Linked DNA regions of Homo sapiens: all the other regions are linked to region 3. Evidence: promoter capture Hi-C in 16 types of primary human blood cells and fetal thymus (Javierre and others, 2016). All regions are on one chromosome and are shown on one strand. Each heading gives the region's core, a stretch centred on a gene start or on the middle of the fragment in contact. The rest is flanking DNA. Distances are from core to core; before and after follow the strand shown. Region 1 holds the start of MYRF-AS1 (MYRF antisense RNA 1). Region 2 holds the start of SLC22A8 (solute carrier family 22 member 8). Region 3 holds the start of SCGB1D4 (secretoglobin family 1D member 4). Region 4 holds the start of SLC22A6 (solute carrier family 22 member 6). Region 5 holds the start of SYT7 (synaptotagmin 7).

What was found. Contacts are between HindIII fragments. The CHiCAGO score rates a contact against its expected background, and 5 or more counts as called.
Region 1: a contact is called between the fragment with the promoter of MYRF-AS1 here and the fragment with the promoter of SCGB1D4 in region 3, in 4 of 17 cell types (M1 macrophages, naive B cells, activated CD4 T cells and 1 more). The highest score is 10.8, in M1 macrophages.
Region 2: a contact is called between the fragment with the promoter of SLC22A8 here and the fragment with the promoter of SCGB1D4 in region 3, in 4 of 17 cell types (activated CD4 T cells, non-activated CD4 T cells, erythroblasts and 1 more). The highest score is 8.0, in activated CD4 T cells.
Region 4: the fragment with the promoter of SLC22A6 here is called in contact with the fragment with the promoter of SCGB1D4 in region 3 in 10 of 17 cell types (total B cells, total CD4 T cells, naive B cells and 7 more); the score reaches 15.1 in total B cells.
Region 5: the fragment with the promoter of SYT7 here is called in contact with the fragment with the promoter of SCGB1D4 in region 3 in 4 of 17 cell types (M1 macrophages, M0 macrophages, neutrophils and 1 more); the score reaches 6.8 in M1 macrophages.

What each region holds. Positions count from the first base shown.
Region 1 is chr11:61,756,414-61,759,113 of GRCh38, reverse strand. It overlaps MYRF-AS1 (MYRF antisense RNA 1), which reads left to right and starts at 1,450. Exons shown (of 4, transcript NR_026882.1): 1 at 1,450-1,625; 2 at 1,751-2,031. All of the region lies in intron 1 of MYRF (myelin regulatory factor), which reads right to left. RefSeq lists enhancers at 1,066-1,709, 2,220-2,269, 1,710-2,353, 2,354-2,700, 1,863-2,700. The HindIII fragment of the contact is 8,901 bases long and covers 1-1,585 here.
Region 2 is chr11:63,014,479-63,017,178 of GRCh38, reverse strand. SLC22A8 (solute carrier family 22 member 8) reads left to right here and starts at 1,338. Exons shown (of 11, transcript NM_004254.4): 1 at 1,338-1,450; 2 at 2,196-2,553. The coding sequence starts at 2,221. RefSeq lists an enhancer at 1,479-2,333. The HindIII fragment of the contact is 16,699 bases long and covers 1-2,700 here.
Region 3 is chr11:62,297,760-62,300,459 of GRCh38, reverse strand. SCGB1D4 (secretoglobin family 1D member 4) reads left to right here and starts at 1,385. Exons shown (of 3, transcript NM_206998.2): 1 at 1,385-1,504. The coding sequence starts at 1,450. The HindIII fragment of the contact is 1,500 bases long and covers 714-2,213 here.
Region 4 is chr11:62,983,717-62,986,416 of GRCh38, reverse strand. It overlaps SLC22A6 (solute carrier family 22 member 6), which reads left to right and starts at 1,450. Exons shown (of 10, transcript NM_153276.3): 1 at 1,450-2,095; 2 at 2,370-2,473. The coding sequence starts at 1,727. RefSeq lists an enhancer at 1,763-2,313. The HindIII fragment of the contact is 6,991 bases long and covers 1-2,700 here.
Region 5 is chr11:61,579,685-61,582,384 of GRCh38, reverse strand. SYT7 (synaptotagmin 7) reads left to right here and starts at 1,309. Exons shown (of 13, transcript NM_001365809.2): 1 at 1,309-1,595. The coding sequence starts at 1,565. It overlaps LOC105369331 (a long non-coding RNA gene), which reads left to right. Exons shown (of 5, transcript XR_950166.3): 5 at 392-979. RefSeq lists silencers at 859-1,018, 1,029-1,178, 1,199-1,288. The HindIII fragment of the contact is 6,758 bases long and covers 1-2,700 here.

The DNA of each region.
Region 1 (2,700 bases), core at 201-2,700, 540 kb after region 3:
ACCTGTGCCCATCTGTGCCTACACACCGGCGTGGCCCCACGCAGGCACACTGCCAACACACACACATATATGTAAGGGCACACCCTGCAGTCAGGTATCCACTGACATGCGCATGATCACGTACCACCTGCCCCCTACTCACACATACACAGTACTGACACACAGTGGCATGCCCCACACATATACCCACACACATGCGCACACCAGCGTTCATCCGTGTGCCTTCATTCATTCAGCAGTTATTTACTGAGCACCTGTTATGTGCCAGGCAAGCATAGTGCCCAGCTTTGGGGCTACAGCAGTGAGCAAAAGGGACAAAAGCCTTGCCCACATGGAGCTGACATTCTAGGGAGCAGAGTCAGATGACGAGAGCAGCAAAATGCCTAGCATTCTAGAAGGTTCCAGATGGCGGGGACAGCCGGTGCAAAAGCCCTGAGGTACGAGCATGCCTGTGCATGTTCACACCTCAGCACACTTCACAGGTGTATATGCCAGGACACGCATGTACACAAACACTCACTGACCCGACGACAGGCCCAGGCCCACAGGCACAGCGTCACATGCATGGGTTAGGTTAGTGGCCACCCAGGAAGAGCTCCCACCTCCTCTTCTTCCCTCCAAGCCCCCTCCCCGCCTGCTGTCAGACCCTCCCTAAGCAGCTCCGGCTGGAGCCAGGCCCCACTGAGTGAACTCAGTGTCACAGGCACAACTTCCCTCCTCCAAGCTAGCAGGGCAGGGGATGGGGATCCCCTTGCCCCAGCCATAGAGGGAGAAGAGAGGGGAGTGAGGGAGGCCGGAGGGAGATAGGATCCTCAAACTCCACAAAGGAGAGACAGAGGCTGTGGTTGTGCACTCCGGTGGCTGCACGGACCCCGGTCAGCTGGAGGGAGAACTTCCCTCACTGATGCGACCTGGGGCACAGGGAGGACAGAATGTCCGGGAGCCCCCTCCATACTCTAGGCCGGCAGGGGGCTCCGGACCCAACTGTACTCCCCACCCAGGGGCTTTGCCCCTCCCCCCCTCACTCCAGGCCTTGGCACTCGTGGGATCTAACTGCTAACATCACCCAACCTTGACCATGTGAGTGAGGGCTCTGAGGTCTAGAGAGGTCAAGGAGGCTGCACGGACATCACCTGGCGTGGCCACCCGTGCTGGAGCCACCCCTCAGCATGTCAGGAGGAGAGGCCCCTTCCCTGCCCATCCCAGGCTGGCACAGAGCTGGGACCCAGGCTCCAGTCCCAGCTCTGTTGTGGCCACCTTGAGGGAGCCTGACACATCATCGCCTTCCTGTCCTGCCTCACAGTCCCCCTCAGAAATGGGAGGCCGTCACCCACGCTTCCACTGCACCCCAGGACTCCAGGAAGACAACGTGCAAAGAGCCTGGGTGCAGCAGATGAAGTCACAATACAGCCAAGCCCCTCCTCCTTGCTGGCAGCAAGAACAGAACCCAAATCTCAGAGGGGGAGGTGGGGCGGGCCCCACTGGATGTGCCAGGGACCAGGACCAGGCCACGCTGGGCCAGAGCTGTCATGGTTCAGGCCTTGCACACAGAACCACAGAACATGCTCAACAAGCCCCCTAAGCTTAGGGGCACTGACCTACCCTGGGGACCAGTAATCTTCAAGGTAGGGCGCAGAACACCTGCCATGGACCAATGGAGTGTTCACCAGGCCAGGCACAATCTTACCTAATCACCCCAGAAACCCTGGGACGGAGGCCCTGCCATTACAACTGCACTCCCGTTTTACAGATGAGAAAGCGGAGGCACAGCGGTGCCCTGATACGGCCAAGAGAAGCACTGTGGGTAAGCAGGAGAGCTAGGAACAGACCCCAGCTGCCCTCGCTGGCGAATGCACAGAACCATTACATCATCCTACCCCGAGACCCAACCAAGAGGTACCCACACCCCGTGGCAGCCGGGGCTGAAGGCCTGGAGATAGGAGAGGAGGCCCCACATACTCCAGCACCCAAGGCAATGAGAGAAACTGAGGCCCAGGAAGGTGCTAGGTCCGTGAAGAGGAAGGTGGGAAGGTAAGGCAGGCTGCCTGGGTAGGGCGGGGCCACCCAGTTAATGATTCAGTTAATAATTTCTGCTCCCAGTTCCTTATCAGGGAGGGCAAAGTCCAAGGGTGGCAGCCAATGAGCAGCTCTGCTGGGCTGTTACCCAGCAGCCTCTGCTGCCAGGGCCCTCCAGTCTGTAACCCCTTGGGAGTTGGTAATTGGGGAGTCAGGCCCCCAGGGAAAAGGCCATTCTGCCCTCAAATGCCCTCCTTGGCTCTACTTAAGACCCCAAGGAGCACTCTGTCCAGCCTTCCAGTCTCAGGAGAGTCCCTGAGGCCAAAGGGTTGGTAACTGCCTGTTTCTCACCCCTGCACTGACCCCAGGCCCTCCAGAGAGGTGCTTTCTGGGGTGCGTCCCCCACCCCCGCCGCCTCTGTTCACATACCCATTGTTGTCACCATTGACCCGGAGAGCACTTCCTGCCCACCCCCCACCCCTGCCCTGCACTGGGTGCTGGGGACATGGGGATGAGTCAGACCCCCTACTACCATTTCCTCCCCTGCCTGGGCTCAGGAAACCCTGTGCCTGGCCACCCCTCCCATCTACTTACTCCCTGGGTGCACCAGGGACAGACAGAGACAGGCTGACACGGGCCACAGTGCCACCCCCATCACGAAGCCCAGCTCAGCCCCCGGATTCC
Region 2 (2,700 bases), core at 89-2,588, 720 kb before region 3:
CAACCTCTGCCTCCTGGGTTCCAGTGATTCTCCTGCCTCAGCTTCCCAAGTAGCTGGGACTATAGGCGCGTGCCACATGCCTGGCTAATTTTTGTATTTTTAGTAGAGATGGGGTTTCACCATATTGGCCAGGCTGGTCTGGAACTCCTGACCTCGTGACCCACCCACCTTGGCCTCCCAGACTGCTGGGATTACAGGCTTGAGCCACCCCGCCCAGACCTCTAGGTGGCTCTTTAAGGGAGAGGCAATATATTAATAGTACAGTGCCCCCATAGGCTTCGTAGAGAATGTTGGTTCTAAGGGAGGGAATAGGCTTAGGGCCACCCTGCCCCTGCCCTGTGCTTCCTGGCTGGGGGATGGTGAGGAGGTCACTTAATCTCCCTTTGCCTCAGTTCCCTAATTATTAATGCTAGACTAGTCACAGGGCTGCCGTGAGGGTTAAAAGAGCCTAATGTTGGTGGCTAGAAGTTGAGGTCTTAGACTGAAGTCTCTGCTGAGGAAAAGACCAGAAGAACAGATAGGCTCTCAGGTGAGACTGGACATTTTGCTTTGTTTTGATTTGTTTTGTTTGGCTTGTCTGTATTTCCCATGTTTTATGCAGGAAACACACATTATTATATAATTAAAATAATATTCAGAGTGAAAATAAAACAGCAGGGACTACATTTGGTCCCCAGGGGGAAGCGGCTGATCAGGAGAGAAGCCTGTCCATTGAGGGTGGGATGGAAGGGGGCAGTTCACCTGTGTCAGAGACACAGACACGGAGGTCCTGGCTGCCCCAGGGGCCCAGGAGATGGCAGCCCTGCGTCCTCAGGGATAGATGAAAGTGACATTTTCTGTCTGGGTGTGCCCTAACACTTCCTGAGAGGCAAATCCCCTTCCCCTACTCGGGAGGTGCCAGGCAGGGGAGGTAGCACACAGGAGAATGCTGCCTGCTTACGGGCACCAGTGCCTTTCCCATTGGTTGTCCTCAGCATCAAGTCCTCTGAACATCAGTTGAGAGGGACCTTGAACCCTCAGAGGTCAGGCCAGATTCCTTCCCAGAATCTCCCCTCGGTGAGCCTGCCAGGGCTGCTCGCGTTGGGCGGATGTACAAAACGGAGGCACGTCTCAGACTTCCCATTTGGGCCCGTGGTGTCCAGCCAGCAGCCCTGCTAGGCTCAGCCACGCTGCCCCACCCCCAGCGGCCCTCGCTGAGGCAGCCCTTTGAGGAGAGCTGGGCTTGGTGGGTCCACAGCACTCTCCCTGCCAGTGACGTTAATCCGCAAAAGAAAGTCAAACATTAGCCCGGGAAACAGCTTATGCCTTATATAAGCCCCCCTGGGGGAGGCACAAACACAGCTTGTTAGAGCTGAGCTGCCCTACTACAGCAGCTGCCGGCCCCTAGGACAGAGCAGGGACCTCAACTACACTGATCACCAGCCCCATCGGATCCAGACCCGGCCACCAGGTGAGGAGGGATGGAGGGCCTCCCCAGCCCAGGCACCTAGGAATCCCAGGGATCTCCCAAGGCCAGGCTCCACTTGCGACTAGCCAAGCCCCTAGTGCCCTCTGAGACCTGCTTCGGGCTCTTACAGATACTCCAGCATGGTGGGCCCAGCCCCAGGGAACTGCCAGAAGCCAGGAGGCTCTGAGCTTGGGGAGGCCTTTCCCAGCAGACAACCTGAACTCTGCTAACCCTGTGTATCTGCCTGGAGCAACTGGGGACATTCACCACCCACCCTCTAATCTGTCCTTTGTAGCCAACATCCAAGGCTGGGCCCCTTGGTCCCTGCTACGTGTCCTGCACTGCTCCATGCATGCAGCATGTGCAACCAGCCTAGCTGAGCACACACATGCTCGTGTCCGCAGGTGCACACGCTCACAACACATACCCGAGCTCACGCAGCTGTGTCCTTATGCTGCAGCCTAAATGAGCACATACCCATAGATACCTTTGTGTCCACACACCTGGACACACACTTCCACCTTTGATCCCACAGCCCTCCGTGCAGCTGGGCTCTTCCTCAGACATCCACACAAGAATCTGCGGCTCCACATGCCTGAGCTTCCACATCTTTACACACTTACACATGCTCTGCTCCACACACCTGTGCTCGCATATCCACCTGGTTCACCCTCCCACATATCGTTCCATAGACCCACGCACTACCAGGCACAAATATACCTCTCCCTGGCCTATGCCCTGCCCACAGCTCTGGCTCGTCTTGCCCCAGTGCCATGACCTTCTCGGAGATCCTGGACCGTGTGGGAAGCATGGGCCATTTCCAGTTCCTGCATGTAGCCATACTGGGCCTCCCGATCCTCAACATGGCCAACCACAACCTGCTGCAGATCTTCACAGCCGCCACCCCTGTCCACCACTGTCGCCCGCCCCACAATGCCTCCACAGGGCCTTGGGTGCTCCCCATGGGCCCAAATGGGAAGCCTGAGAGGTGCCTCCGTTTTGTACATCCGCCCAATGCCAGCCTGCCCAATGACACCCAGAGGGCCATGGAGCCATGCCTGGATGGCTGGGTCTACAACAGCACCAAGGACTCCATTGTGACAGAGGTATGCCTGGGCAAACCCTCTCCCTCCACTTACCCACGTACCCCCATACCCTGCACCGCTGGTGGGCAGCAGAGGAGGCTGGGGTCTGGTGTTCCCAGGAACTGAGGACAGGTCACTGGGCAGGCAAAGAGGAAGGACCTGAGTGCA
Region 3 (2,700 bases), core at 136-2,635:
GCAGGGCTGATTCAGGGACTCCGTCGTCATCCTGTGTGATGAAAGTGAGATCCACTGTTGCCCTCAGCTTGGACTCAACTAAATCTGTCAATGTGTCTTTGATGACAAAACCCGTAAGGTCCCCTTCCTTCTTAAAGGTTTTCCTGGCTGGATCTCAGCCCTGCTGTCTGTGAGAAACACCAGAGCAGTTTAAACAGTACAGAAAGGAGGGATTCACCCCAATGCTACTGAATCAAAATCGCCAGAGAGAGAAGCCTGTGGGGTCAGTATGTTTTAAAAGCTCCAAGTGATTTGACTACATAGCTGAGAATGGAAAGCTATGGCCTGGGCTGTGACTCCTCTCAAATGTAAGTTTATTTAAGAGAAAAATTTCTGGTGATTAAACTCACACCACATGAAGGCACGGCAATGGGAGGGAAGGCGGGTGTGTATTGCTTTGTCTGGGGGCTTCCTTCACTTTCCCTTAAAAATGGGATTGGCCCAGGCAGCACAGATAGGTTTGAAGTGGAAAACTTGAGCCTAGGGGTTAGGGGGAAGTGACCACCCACCCTGTTCCTCTGTCTCTTCCCTTCTATTATCTTCCCAGCCTAGAGCCCCACTGATGTATGATTGGCTCTGAACACTCCAAAAGCTCTTGAGAAAAAGAGTTAGGTTATTTAATCTTCAGATCAGCCCTAAGATAAGACGTGGGTGGCTACACATCACAGAAAGCTTGCTTTTTATAGATAGAAAATGTGAATCTTGGCCATATATATAACTGCACGTATAAACAAGATTCAGGTTTGGGAGTGAGGCAGGCTAGAGAACAGGTGCAGCAGATGTTTTTCCTCAGCATATCTTCTACAGGTGGGATGTATTCAACTATGTTTTCAGTACCTATGCAGTGAACATGGTGGTGATGGAAGGGGCTGAGGGGAAGGATTAGACTTTCCCAATGTGCAACTGAAACAAGCCTGCTTGTTGTCAGACATGCAGGGGGATCAAAGCAGGGTCTCCTTATGTCCCTGCTCTCCCATAAAGAGAACACAGCCTTCCAGCTTCCTGTGCCTTGTGAAGCCATAATTCACCTGTGCCCCTGCACTGCTACAAAGATAAAAAGAACTAATCAGCAAAAGCTCATAAGGAAATTGAGGATCCCAGGAACATTTCCAGATGTACCTGAACACTCACCTGGAGCACAGAGCAGAGTTCTCACAAGGCTGCTGTCTTGTGCTCCGCCCCACTCAGATGCAGAGATTCCTAAGGAGGTGACATTGATGGACGGCAGCAGCCCTGGCTTGGAAGGGCGGGCTGGGAGCCAGGCCTCATGACCTACCAGGTGCCCCGGTAGGTAGGACCAGCCAGGCTCCCTAGGTACAAATAGCCCTGGCCTCCATGACTACACAGGCTCCTGGAGTCGAATCCAAATCACTCATTGTGAAAGCTGAGCTCACAGCCGAATAAGCCACCATGAGGCTGTCAGTGTGTCTCCTGATGGTCTCGCTGGCCCTTTGCTGCTACCAGGGTGAGTACATCAGTCATGAGTCCAGCACCAGCCCCTGGGATGCACCCTCTTCTGAGCACAAGATCACCTATTTGTGCTTTGGGTTGGGGTCTGCACAAAACCAAACAAAATTCCAAACCCTTTTCTGTGCTTGTTGAATAAGATTCATAAAGGTTAGAGCTATTTCTTCTTTCTTCTTCCTTTTTTTTTTTTTTTTTTTGAGAAGTTTTGCTCTTGTTGCCCAGGCTGGAGTGCAGTGGCATGATCTTGGCTCACTGCAACCTCTGCCTCCGGGGTTCAAGTGATTCTCCTGCCTCAGCCTTCCTGAGCAGCTGGGATTACAGGCATGGGCCACCACAGCTGGCTAATTTTGTATTTTTAGTAGAGATGGGGTTTCTCCATGTTGGTCAGGCTGGTCTCGAACTCCCGACCTCAGATGATCTGCCCGCCTCGGCCTCCTAAAGTGCTGGGATAACAGGCATGAGCTACTGCGCCTGGCTGCTTAGAGCTATTTCTTCTAATCCCCAGTATCTAAGAAGTTTTATAGAAAAATCAGTTCAGGCAAATGTTAGGAATTCTTCTGCCTGAGCTTCACTTCTGAATGGGATCTGTGTCAGATGATGTAATGTGAGGTCTGGGGTGAACCTGGGCTTCGACACTTCCCACCCCTTGATCTTGGGCACAATGCTCACCCTCCTTGAGCCTCCTCTTATCACTGGTGGTTAAAGCTTCTGCCAGGAGTGGCTATGAGAATGAAGTAAGGTTATGGTTGTCAAGAGTCAAGCTGTGGGCCAGGCATGGTGTCTCATTCCTGTAATCTTAGCACTTTGGGAGGCCACAGTGGGCAGATCACTTGAGCTCAGGAGTTCAGCACCAGCCTGGGCAACATGGCGAAACCCCATCTCTACAAAAAAAAAAAACAAAACAAAACACACACACACACACACACACACACACACACACACAAAAGCGGGCATGGTGGCAGGCACTGGTAGTCTCAGCTACTTTGGGGGCTGAGGGAGGATCGCTTGAGCCCAAGACATTCAGGCTGCAGTGAGCCGAGATTGTGCCACTGCATTCCAGTCTGGGTGAACCTATCTCAAAAAAAAGAAAAAGAAGTCTAGCTGAGGATATGAAGCTCTTCCCTTTGTTGTGTGACCCGGAGAAAGTCACACCTGGAGTTTCTGGTATTGTCATCAGCACAATAATGGTATAGA
Region 4 (2,700 bases), core at 201-2,700, 690 kb before region 3:
AAAATAACACTATGGCTGGGTGCGGTAGGTCACTCCTGTAATCTCAGCCATTTGGAAGGCTGAGGCAGGTGGATTGCTTGAGCCCAGGAGTTCAAGACCAGCCTGGGCAACATAGCAAAACCACATCTCTTAAAAATAAATAAATACATGTGTGCTGGTGCACACATGTAGTTCTAGCTACTCAGGAGGCTGAACTGGGAAGATAATCTGAGCCTGGAGAGGTCAAGGCTGCAGTGTGCCAAGATTGTGCCACTACACTCCAGGCTGGATGACAGAGTGAGACCCTATCTCAAAAATAAATTAAAGAGGCCAGGCATGGTGTCTCACGCCTATAATCCCAGCACTTTGGGAGGCTGAGATGGGCAGATCACCTGAAGTCAGGAGTTCGAGACCAGCCTGGCCAACATGGTGACACCCCATCTCTACTAAAAATAACAAAAATTAGCCAGGCGTGGTAGCACATGCCCATAATCCCAGCTACTCGGGAGGTTGAGGCATGATAATCACTTGAACCTGGGAGGCAGAGGTTGCAGTGAGCTGAGATTGCACCATTGCACTCCAGCCTGGGCAACAGAGTGAGACTGTGTCTCAAAAAGAAAGAGAAGAGAGGAGAAGAGAAGAGAAGAGGGGAGGAGAGGGGAGGGGAGCGAAGGGGAGGTGACAAAGGAGGGGAGGGGAGGGGAGAAGAGAAGAAAACAAGAAGAAAAGAAAAGAAAAAAGACACTATGGACAGAAGACAATATGACTAAGGGAAAAATCTGACCCTTGGAAGGGTCAGAAGAATCACTGGAAGAATCACCCGACATTGTGTATGACGTTGGTCTTAGGTCCCACTCCAAGAGCGGCCTCTGACTTCTGTTGTTTCTTCCAAATGAATAAAACCATGGTTCTATAAGATGTGAGCTGTCCCCAGAAGAACAAAGACTGGGGTTGTCACATTTAGCAAATAAAGATACAGGGTGCCCAGTCAAATTTGCATTTCAAATCAATGAAGAATTGCTTAGTATAAGTATGTCTCATGCAATATTAGAGACATACTCATACTTTTAAAAACTCTTCATTGACCTAAAATGCAAATTTGACTGGGCACCCTGTAATTTCCCTGGCAACCCTTCCCAAAAGCAGACTATTTGGATCTCATCCACTAAAAAGGGCAGAAACTCCTCAAGAGGCCACCACACTTCCCAGAGCCCAGTCTCCTTCCTAAAAGGAAGACAAATAGGTCCAATAGATCCCACTCTGGCCCCCCCTGCCCCCAGATGCCCCCCTAATACACCCCTCTCCCTGCTCCTATTCAGTCCACCCTCTCCTGCCCTTTATAACCACTTGGAGAAATTCCACTGACACAAGGAATCCTTGGAGGGTTAATCCTTCTGATACCAAGTCACACTTTAACTCATTCCCTCCAGGCCAAGGATTAAAAACTGCCCATGCAAGGGTCAGGTCTCCAGCAGACCCTGAAAGCTGAGCTGCCCTGACCCCCAAAGTGAGGAGAAGCTGCAAGGGAAAAGGGAGGGACAGATCAGGGAGACCGGGGAAGAAGGAGGAGCAGCCAAGGAGGCTGCTGTCCCCCCACAGAGCAGCTCGGACTCAGCTCCCGGAGCAACCCAGCTGCGGAGGCAACGGCAGTGCTGCTCCTCCAGCGAAGGACAGCAGGCAGGCAGACAGACAGAGGTCCTGGGACTGGAAGGCCTCAGCCCCCAGCCACTGGGCTGGGCCTGGCCCAATGGCCTTTAATGACCTCCTGCAGCAGGTGGGGGGTGTCGGCCGCTTCCAGCAGATCCAGGTCACCCTGGTGGTCCTCCCCCTGCTCCTGATGGCTTCTCACAACACCCTGCAGAACTTCACTGCTGCCATCCCTACCCACCACTGCCGCCCGCCTGCCGATGCCAACCTCAGCAAGAACGGGGGGCTGGAGGTCTGGCTGCCCCGGGACAGGCAGGGGCAGCCTGAGTCCTGCCTCCGCTTCACCTCCCCGCAGTGGGGACTGCCCTTTCTCAATGGCACAGAAGCCAATGGCACAGGGGCCACAGAGCCCTGCACCGATGGCTGGATCTATGACAACAGCACCTTCCCATCTACCATCGTGACTGAGGTGAGCACCTGGGGCTCCCCATCCAGGGGCCAAGATGGGAAGATGGGGGCCTTTGTTAAAAAAAAAAAAAAAGTACATGGAGAAATTAACTGCTGAGTTTTTTAACTGCTGAGTTAAAAAGAAAAATGCTCTCAGCTGTCAGGACCAGAGAGGCAAAGGGCAAAGTGCCGGAGGAAGAGGGTGACATGGACCCCAGAGGACCAGCTGAAGTGGGGGAAGGGGATTCTCTGAAGCCAGGCTCATCTCTGCCTGACCCTTGCTCCTCTCCCCACAGTGGGACCTTGTGTGCTCTCACAGGGCCCTACGCCAGCTGGCCCAGTCCTTGTACATGGTGGGGGTGCTGCTCGGAGCCATGGTGTTCGGCTACCTTGCAGACAGGTCAGTCCTGGGTAGGGTCAAGGGGCTGGGCTGGGCTGGGATTAGGGGCTCAGCTGGGCTCAGGGTGTCTAGGTGGGAGCTTGGCATTGCCAGCCGGCGCTGGTTTGAGGATCTACAGCACCAGCCTCATACTTCAGAGGTCCTCAAAAGGCCCCAGCCCAGGCATCATCCAGGGTGAGCCCTCCTCTCCTGGCTCAGCCTGACCCCCATCAGTCTCCAGGGCCCTG
Region 5 (2,700 bases), core at 60-2,559, 720 kb after region 3:
GGCTGGGCATGAGTAGTGCAGTATAAAGCCAGCAAAAGTGGATTTCTCAGGGTGGAAATAATAATCCTTGACTCTAGGAAGCCTGGCTCACCTGCAAACTGCATTCTCAGCACAGGGGAGGGCAGGATGCTGCCACAGACCCAGGGATTTTGCCCTCTTACCTGACCCATCAGTGAAGGGTAGGGGCAGCACCTGTATTGTGGGGAGCGTCAGTGTATGTGTCTCTTTGTGTGGGCAGCATGTCTGTGTGGGTGTGTGTGTGGGGGGCATCATGTCTGTGTGTGTGTGTGTGTGTGTGTATGTAGGTGATTACGTGTGTAGGTGTGTGCAGGGAGGTCTCTGTGCCTACCATACCACTAATGGTTCATTTCTGGGTTTTTCTTATCCTTAGGAGACAGGTCTCTTCTCCTCCCTGCCCCAGAATCAAATCATCCAAATTCTGTAGAGAAATGAGTGTTCACCTGATTTAGACTGTGCTGAGCCGGCAGAGAGGCAGAGGGGACCAAGAGAGGTCCAGGGTTGGAAGGAGAAGGAGGGATTTCCTTCCTACCCTCCGAAGTGCTAGGGTCAAGGAATAGAGGGGAGGATCAGAGGAGGAGCTGCTGCTATAGAGGGATAGCCAGAGGCTGAAAAGTCTATTTTCTTCTTTCGTGGGGCTGGGTTAGGTGAGGAGGGTCACTAGGCCAAACCTCCTACCGAGGGCAGGGATCTTAGCCCTTTCGGCTCCACCTGTGTGCGAGCTTGCAGAAAGACCGGACTGGCGGACCCAGGCTCAGCGCTGCCAAAAATTCCACTCCTGGTTTTTGCACACACCAGTCCGTCTGCCCCGGACCGCCGCGGTGTTGAGTCCGGAGCTGACGCCCTCGAGCCGCCAGCAAGCGGAAAACCCGGAGTGGATCTCCACGCCTTTTGGATCGGAGCCAAAGGGCACCTCGGAGGAGGTGGCCGGCTCTGCGGCCCTGCCCGGTGCCAGGCCGCGGCCATCGGGGGAGCACGGGCTGGGGGTGGGTCGCGCAGCGGAGCCGGATCCCCTGGCCGGACGAGCCCGGCCGTGGGGCTCGGCGGCCCTCCCCGCGGGGACTGCGAGGCGGGCGGGGCGCGGGGCGGCGGCCGTGCCCTCGGGGCGGCTTCGGGCGGCGGCGGGCGCGGGTGCAGTGCGGCGCGCGGCCGGCAGCGGGCGCAGGCGGTGGCTGTGGCCGCGGCGTTCGGCGGCTGGCGGGCGGCGCCGGCGGTGCCCCGGGCGCGCTCACACACGCGCTCACACACACACATACACACGGCCTCGTACACACACACACGCTCCGGCGCGCACACGCGGCGCGCAGGCCGGAGGGAGGCGGCTCGGCGCTGTTCGGCGGCGGCGGCAGCGTGCTCCGCGGGCGGGCGGGAGGGCTGGCGGGCGGCCCCCGCTCCCCGGCTCCGCGGCTAGGTGCAGCCCGCTCGGCCCCCGCCCTCGGACCCGCCCCCGGGGGTCGCCCGGCCCCATGCCCAGCGGCGGCGGCGGAGCAGCGCGCGGCCGCGGGCGGCTCTGAGGAGCCCGGAGGGAACCGGCGACGAGGGGACCATGTACCGGGACCCGGAGGCGGCCAGCCCAGGTAAGCGCGGCCCCGGCGGGCTGGGGCGCCCCGCACCGGCGGGCAGGACAGCGGCAGCGCCGGACGCCGTCTCGGAGCCCCAGCCTGGGGCTGTTGTCCGCCCGGAGCCGCACGGGCTCCCCCAGGGGTCATCCCAGCCCCGGGGGCGCGGGATCGAGCGGCAGCGGCTCGGACCCCGGTCCCCCGCAGTCTGGACACTGCCAGGCTGGATGTCTGGGACCGGCTTCGCAGTGTCCCCACAAGGACCTCTCCCCCACCCCTCAACAGCCCAAGGACAACGTGTGTGGCGGAGCGAGGAGCCGCTGCCCCTGTGGGAGCCGGGCAGTGCCCTCAGAGGCACCCGAGGCTCCCCAGCACCGGTGCCCCGGGGGTGCCAGCGCTGGCGGACCCCAGGGCGAGGATCCCGGCAGCTCTTGGCCAAGGTTGCGGGCACAGGGGAGCGGAGTGGCATCGCAGTGCCAACTGTGAATTGAGAGGGTGCCAGGGGGCAAGTGGGAATCTGGTGCGGCAGCTGGGCAGGGAGGTTCTGGGGGGTGGGGAACTGCAGGGGCGTTGATGGGTGAGACGGGGGTGCCTGAAGGGAAAGAGAGCAGGGGCTCATGAGAATGGGGGTGCCAAGAGAATGTTCTCCTAGGTTTGGGGAGGGGGAAGCAAACAACCCCAAACTCTCTCCCGTCCTGGGGTGGGGGAGGGCCGAACTCCTTTGCCTTCTGCTTCGCCCGCCAGGGGAGTGGCCTGGGAGCCCACTGTCTGCTTGGTATCCTCTAAGCCAAAGCCGAAGAATCTTCCCGTCTTCCTCGGAAATTGCTCTGCCATTTCCTCCTTGGCTCCTGATGCCTCCTCACCCAGTGCCCACCTGTAGGCAGGTCCCCTGCAGCTCCTGCCCAGGCTCCATCCCCGCTCCCACCTGGGGTGCTCCACCCAGTCCCAGCACCCCCAGTCTGCCAGTTCTGGCATCAGGGTCTGTTTCTGGGCTTCTCTCTGATGCTAAAAGCACGACTCCCCAGCCCAGGATGTGCTCCCAAACGAAGAGCCTCCAGGCTCCCTCCTGCCAGCCTCCTGGGGGCGGCGGTGCTGTAGGGAAGGAAGGGCTCTAAGACCCTGC